Linked DNA regions of Homo sapiens: region 2 is linked to region 1. Evidence: promoter capture Hi-C in human tissues and cell types (Jung and others, 2019). All regions are on one chromosome and are shown on one strand. Each heading gives the region's core, a stretch centred on a gene start or on the middle of the fragment in contact. The rest is flanking DNA. Distances are from core to core; before and after follow the strand shown.

What was found. Contacts are between HindIII fragments. The study calls those that stand out against the background at their distance.
Region 2: a fragment that was not itself captured here is called in contact with the fragment with the promoter of SNAP25 in region 1 in 1 of the 25 tissues and cell types used here (stomach).

The regions. Positions count from the first base shown.
Region 1 is chr20:10,217,443-10,220,172 of GRCh38, forward strand. SNAP25 (synaptosome associated protein 25) reads left to right here and starts at 1,388. Exons shown (of 8, transcript NM_130811.4): 1 at 1,388-1,535. It overlaps SNAP25-AS1 (SNAP25 antisense RNA 1), which reads right to left and starts at 2,064. Exons shown (of 5, transcript NR_040710.1): 1 at 1,795-2,064. The HindIII fragment of the contact is 5,357 bases long and covers 1-2,730 here.
Region 2 is chr20:9,959,097-9,961,841 of GRCh38, forward strand. No RefSeq gene overlaps it. Among named protein-coding and RNA genes, the nearest start is that of PARAL1, 26 kb to the right of the region's middle. The HindIII fragment of the contact is 7,805 bases long and covers 1-2,745 here.

The DNA.
Region 1 (2,730 bases), core at 138-2,637:
AAGGATTTTCCATAGCCTAAAAGAGGCCATCAAGTTTTAACATTGCGAGGCACGACTTCTAATCGCATCCTTCCCGGAAAAGTACAAACAGTTCCTCAGACGAGGTCCCCCACCTCCCACGCGCTCCCCAGCCCTCCCTCCCTGCGGAGAGCCCCGCGACAGCCTCCCCAACACCTGTGAATCATCCGGGAGGCTGCCACCGCCGAGCGATCCGCGCACCACCCCCTTCCCGGGCCCGGGCACGGCCAGGGAGGACAGTTAGGGTTGTTGCTTTATAATTATCACTTTTAATCTCTAATACGACCAGCACAAGTAGCCTTTGTCTCCCCGCCCTGATTTGAGCATCCGAGGGCCCCCCGAGGCAGCCTGCACGGGTACCCCGGGGTTTGCGCACTGAGTGAACCCCCAGATTCGGCCGTGTCCCAGCCGTCCTTGCTCTGAATCCCCCACCTCCTCCCGGCCGTTTGGACGGTTCCCTCGGGGCGTCTGTGCCTCCGTGGGGTACCCCTAAGACACCCAGCATGAAACCCCAGCACCGACTGCAAATTCCACCGAAAGCAGAGTCATCCGTTTTTGCCCTCGGCAAACAACTCAACTTCAAGCCTCGAGTCCTTGCAAACCCACGCTGGCTGGGCTAACTCCGCTTCCCTTCTCCTTCCCCCGACTCCTGCAACAGCTCAGAGAGCCTGGCTCTGACGTAGTTCAAAATAACGTGCGCCAGCCTCGCTGCCCGGCTGACCACAGCAACGAGAGCCACAAGCCCTCGACGCTGCTTCGATAACATGAAGCAATCACTCATAAAAATAGCAACCCACGTAGCCTGGCCATATATGGAGCTGGCGAGGGTGGACGGGGATGCCCCTACGGACCCTCTTCGGAGAAAACAAATCGCCGCTGAAATTTCCCCCACCCCTCCCATCACTACCTTTTACCCCTCCTCTGCCTTCCCCTCTCCTTAGATGACTCAACCACAGATTCCACTGAAAGGGGGTGGGGGTGGGGGTGGGGGGGAATATATACACATACACACAAATTATACATATATTATACATGTATTATAAAATATACACACACATACATATATACATACACACACATATACACATATGTACACACACACGCACACACACCAAAGAACATCAGGAATGCAGTTGCGGGATGAACGCGTTTGCCCAAGACCGAGTGTTAAAATGGAGTCATAAGAGTCGCCCCGTGCGGGTGTTTATAGAAGGTGAAAACACGCAGGTTTGCAGGCCAGCGCACTGGGAACCGAGTCAAGCGCGCCGCAGCCCGGGCCCCGCCCCCGCCCCCGCCGTGCCCCGCCCCCACTTCCTCCCGCCCCTCGCTGGGCGGCTATTAAAAGCTGCTGACGTCAAAACGGACGGCCATCTTTGATGAGGGCAGAGCTCACGTTGCATTGAAGACGAAACCTCGGGGAGGTCAGGCGCTGTCTTTCCTTCCCTCCCTGCTCGGCGGCTCCACCACAGTTGCAACCTGCAGAGGCCCGGAGAACACAACCCTCCCGAGAAGCCCAGGTAAGAACCCCCCTCCCCAGGTCGTGGCTCTGGCTCGGGATGGCTGCATACCCAGAAGGGACAGCAGCTGGGCAGTCCGAGTGGGCTTGGGTAAATACAAGTATTGGTGCACTTAGGGTGCGGTATTCCGTGTGTGCACGTCTGGTGGGGGCTTTATAAAGTGTTTTCGAGGTGAGCTGCTGGGGAAAAGGGAAACGGGAGCCCTGCAAATGGAGCGACGGGGAGGAAGAGCGAGGGTACGTACCGAATAATAACTTACTCTTTTGAAACAGTAGTGGGACCCCCTCTTTCTTCCATTTTGCGATGCAGTTTTCAGAGATATTTAGGCTGTTGAGTTTTCCTCCCCTGTCGTTCTAACCCTATTATTATGACTGTTGTCGTTAGGGTGCTATTATCCAGGGAAGAATTAAGGGGGAGACAGGGTGTGGGTGCTGGGGAGGCGAAAGGAGAAAGGGGGAGTTCCCGCCCCGGGCAAGCTGAGCTGCTGCAGCGACAGCAGCCTCCATGCCCCGCGGACTTGATTTATGCCGCCTGCTCCACGTCAACTGCAGGCTGGCGGGAGGCGGGCGGGTCGTGCCGGGTGGGAGGGCTCTGCGGAGGGCTGGCGCGGGTGGGCTGGCTTCGGGGACTGCGGCGGCCCGCGCTCAGCACCCTGGATAGCAACACCGAGGGCTCGCGCGGGCGCCCTCGACCTTTCAGCACCGGGGACAGCGGTCCGGCCGCAGCGCCTCATCTGCCTGCGGCAGAAATGCCTGGCCGGGGCTGGATGTGCCAGGGCTGGAGACCAAATTGTCTCCCTGAGACCCCGGTCTTACGGAGACCCTTAATAGAGGAGTCATAGTAGCTTAAAAGAAAACAAGAAAGAAATAAATCTTCCTCACAGAGACTCCTTTGCAGACAATTTCCTGTTCCCCTCCTCACCTCCTGCATAGCTTCAACAAAATAGTCTACTTGTGGAAATCTTCTGTGTTGCCCTCTGACCCTTATTTTACGTAGAAAATAAATACATTTTTTAAAAAATATGGATTTATCCTCCAGCAGGGTATCAAGGTTTTTGTTTGGTTTTGTTTTTTAACACAGAGTAGATCTGTCTACAGATCTTGGGTGAGCATAAGTACTGTATATATGAAGAAGCCAATGCTATCTGTTTATAGGGATGATACATCTCTCTCTATGTTTCCATTTGATAAAAATG
Region 2 (2,745 bases), core at 25-2,524, 260 kb before region 1:
TCACATTTTAATTTCTAACATTTAAAAAAAATGATTTGAAGTTTTCTTTTAATATCTTCTTCTATTGTTCATAAATACAATATTTTCTTTTATGATTTGAGCATATTAATGTAGGTGTTTTAAAATTTCTTCTCATTGCATAATATGTTTTCTCCAAATAGATTTTTTTTTTTGGTCTATTTATTTTGGTCTTAATCTTTTATGATAAAGAATTTCCTAAGTGTCTAGTGATCCTCAACAATCTGCTTATGTTTAAACCTAGGGCCCTGAAAGCTCATTAGATGCTCTGAACCAGTGGATGGGCTTTGTTAACTCTGGGCTTTACCATGGAGGTGTCTAAGGGAGGTTTCTGAGATAATCTTTAAAGTCAGAGTTCTTAGCTCTTTCTCCTTGGGCTGCTCAAATTCCCCAGAGAAAAACTTTTAATTTTGTACCTGGATGATATAGGCCTTGCTGCCAGCACTCTGGGAAATAAATGGGAAAAGAAGGCTGGAGATCTCAGAGTTAAGTATGCAAATACAGGACCACCACTAAGCTGGAAGGATAACCAAACATCATGGTTTGCCCTGGACTGAGGAGTCTGCTGGGATGTGAGACTTTTAGTGCTAAAACCAGTATGGTTCCAGGCAAACCAAGACAGTCACTTTAGCCTGGACAACATTCTTAAAAGGACCTTTCTCTGGCCCTTCTTTGTTGATACCTTTTCCCATAGCCAAGGGCACCATCCCCCGTTTGTAGACTGTGTTTCAGAATTCTGCCAAGTGGCCTCAAGCTTGCTTCCAGGGACTATGTGGGCCTGTTCCCTCAGTCTGTCCCTCTGAGGATGAACAATTTTACCAACCAGTGTATGCACCCCTGAAACCAAGAGATATACAAGAGTGTCCATTTGCAGGAGTCTGATAGAGCTTGCACAGGAGGGCTGGGTGTCCACAGGTGCTCATTCAAGGCCCTGACAGTCAAGAAAGAAATCAGGGTGTGAAGGCAAGGAAGGGAGGCCAGGGCCACAGCTCCCATGAATACTCTTGCTTTGGGCTCTGAAAACGTCAGATGCAGGCCTGGACCTTCCTGTTTTCACTGTACCTCCAACCCTCCAGCCCAGAGACTTTTCAGTTACCCTCTCCCACTACTAAACTTCCGGTATTTTACCAGAATGAAGAAAGATGATTGCCTGGCCACAAAGAATGGACTGTAGGATCTTGCAATTGAACTCAAGAGACTTCCAATCAATCCCCTGTTATGGCGCCACCTTCTTCCCCACTTCCAGGGATACCCAGTACTGCCAACTTCTGAGCCTGCTGGAGGTCAGTGGCTGCTAATTGGACTGCTTCTCCTCAGTCCCCACTTGAGGCTTATCACTTGACCTTCTTTGGTTTGCTAAGTCAGGTTCTTCTGATTCACCCATTTTCTAGCTTCCAATATTTTATGTTGTAGCTGCCTCTCCTGTCCCTTGTACTAGTAGGTCTTACTCCTTTTTTTTTTTAAATTGGTTTACTCATCATTCTCAGCAAACTAACACAAGAACAGAAAACCAAACACCACATGTTCTCACTCATAAGTGGGAATTGAACAATCAGAACACATGGACACAGGGAGGGGAACATCACACATGGGGACCTGTCGGGGGTTGGGGGCTAGGGGAGGAAGCACATTAGGAGAAATACCTAATGTAGGTGATGGGTTGATGGGTGCAGCAAACCACCATGGCACATGTATAACTACGTAACAAACCTCCACGTTCTGCACATGTACCCCAGAACTTAAAGTATAATAAAAAACAATTGGTTTACTGTTACATGAATAAGGTTTACAGAGGGACAGAAAATGATTGTTTTCAATCACATATCTCTATTAGGAAGTTGAAATGTCAAAATATTTCCAGCAAAAGAGTAAATAGGAGGAAAAATAAATAAATTTGGGCAAAGATATGGGTGAGAAAATGGGAAACAGTGAATCCTTGTTTGACCCACTAACGAAACAATATCCCAAAATTACATGAGATAACATCTACCAGTTTGTTTGTCACCAAATTCATTATATCAAGCAAACATGCATCTGCTCTGGAATGGGCGGAGAAAGCAAAGGGAATTGAATTTCTTCCCAAGATATTATTTCCAGCCTCTCCTAGTGATAAGCTGTGGTGATTGTGCTACTTTACATATGGTTGGAGGATAAGAGCAACTACAAGCTCTTAAATAACACATACATCTAAAACAATTTTTTTAATTAAGTGTTTGAGTATGGCATTGAAAAAATGGACCATAGCCTTACTTTAGCCTAAGTTCCTGGGTAGTGAAGACAGTTGGCAGCATATTCAGGGCTAGAATCCTCATGAGTGTGGTGGGACAGGGGATCATCCATGCACCCCCTACAGCCATCACCTTGCAACATAAAGGCAGGCCCTGGCCAAAGGGAGTAGCAGGTATTGCCATCAAGGCCAAGCCAAGCCTGCATTGGCTCAGAGAAAAGGAACTGACTTGACAATATGCCTAGTGTGGATTCATGTAATGCATTATTTCACTGAAAACTTCTAGATCTCATCTTACATGCAAAGAATGAAATGCCCAAAGGGGTTAAGTAATTTACTCATGGCGCACGGTAGCTACTCAGTGGTGGAACTCGGTATCCCATCCAATTCTGTCTAGTTCTTTGAAACTTTCCATATAAAAATCATCATGAATCTGGACAGGGGCAGGGGCTTTTACTATGGTTTTCCAGGTAGCAAGATGAGGGGTCTTTGGACATGGC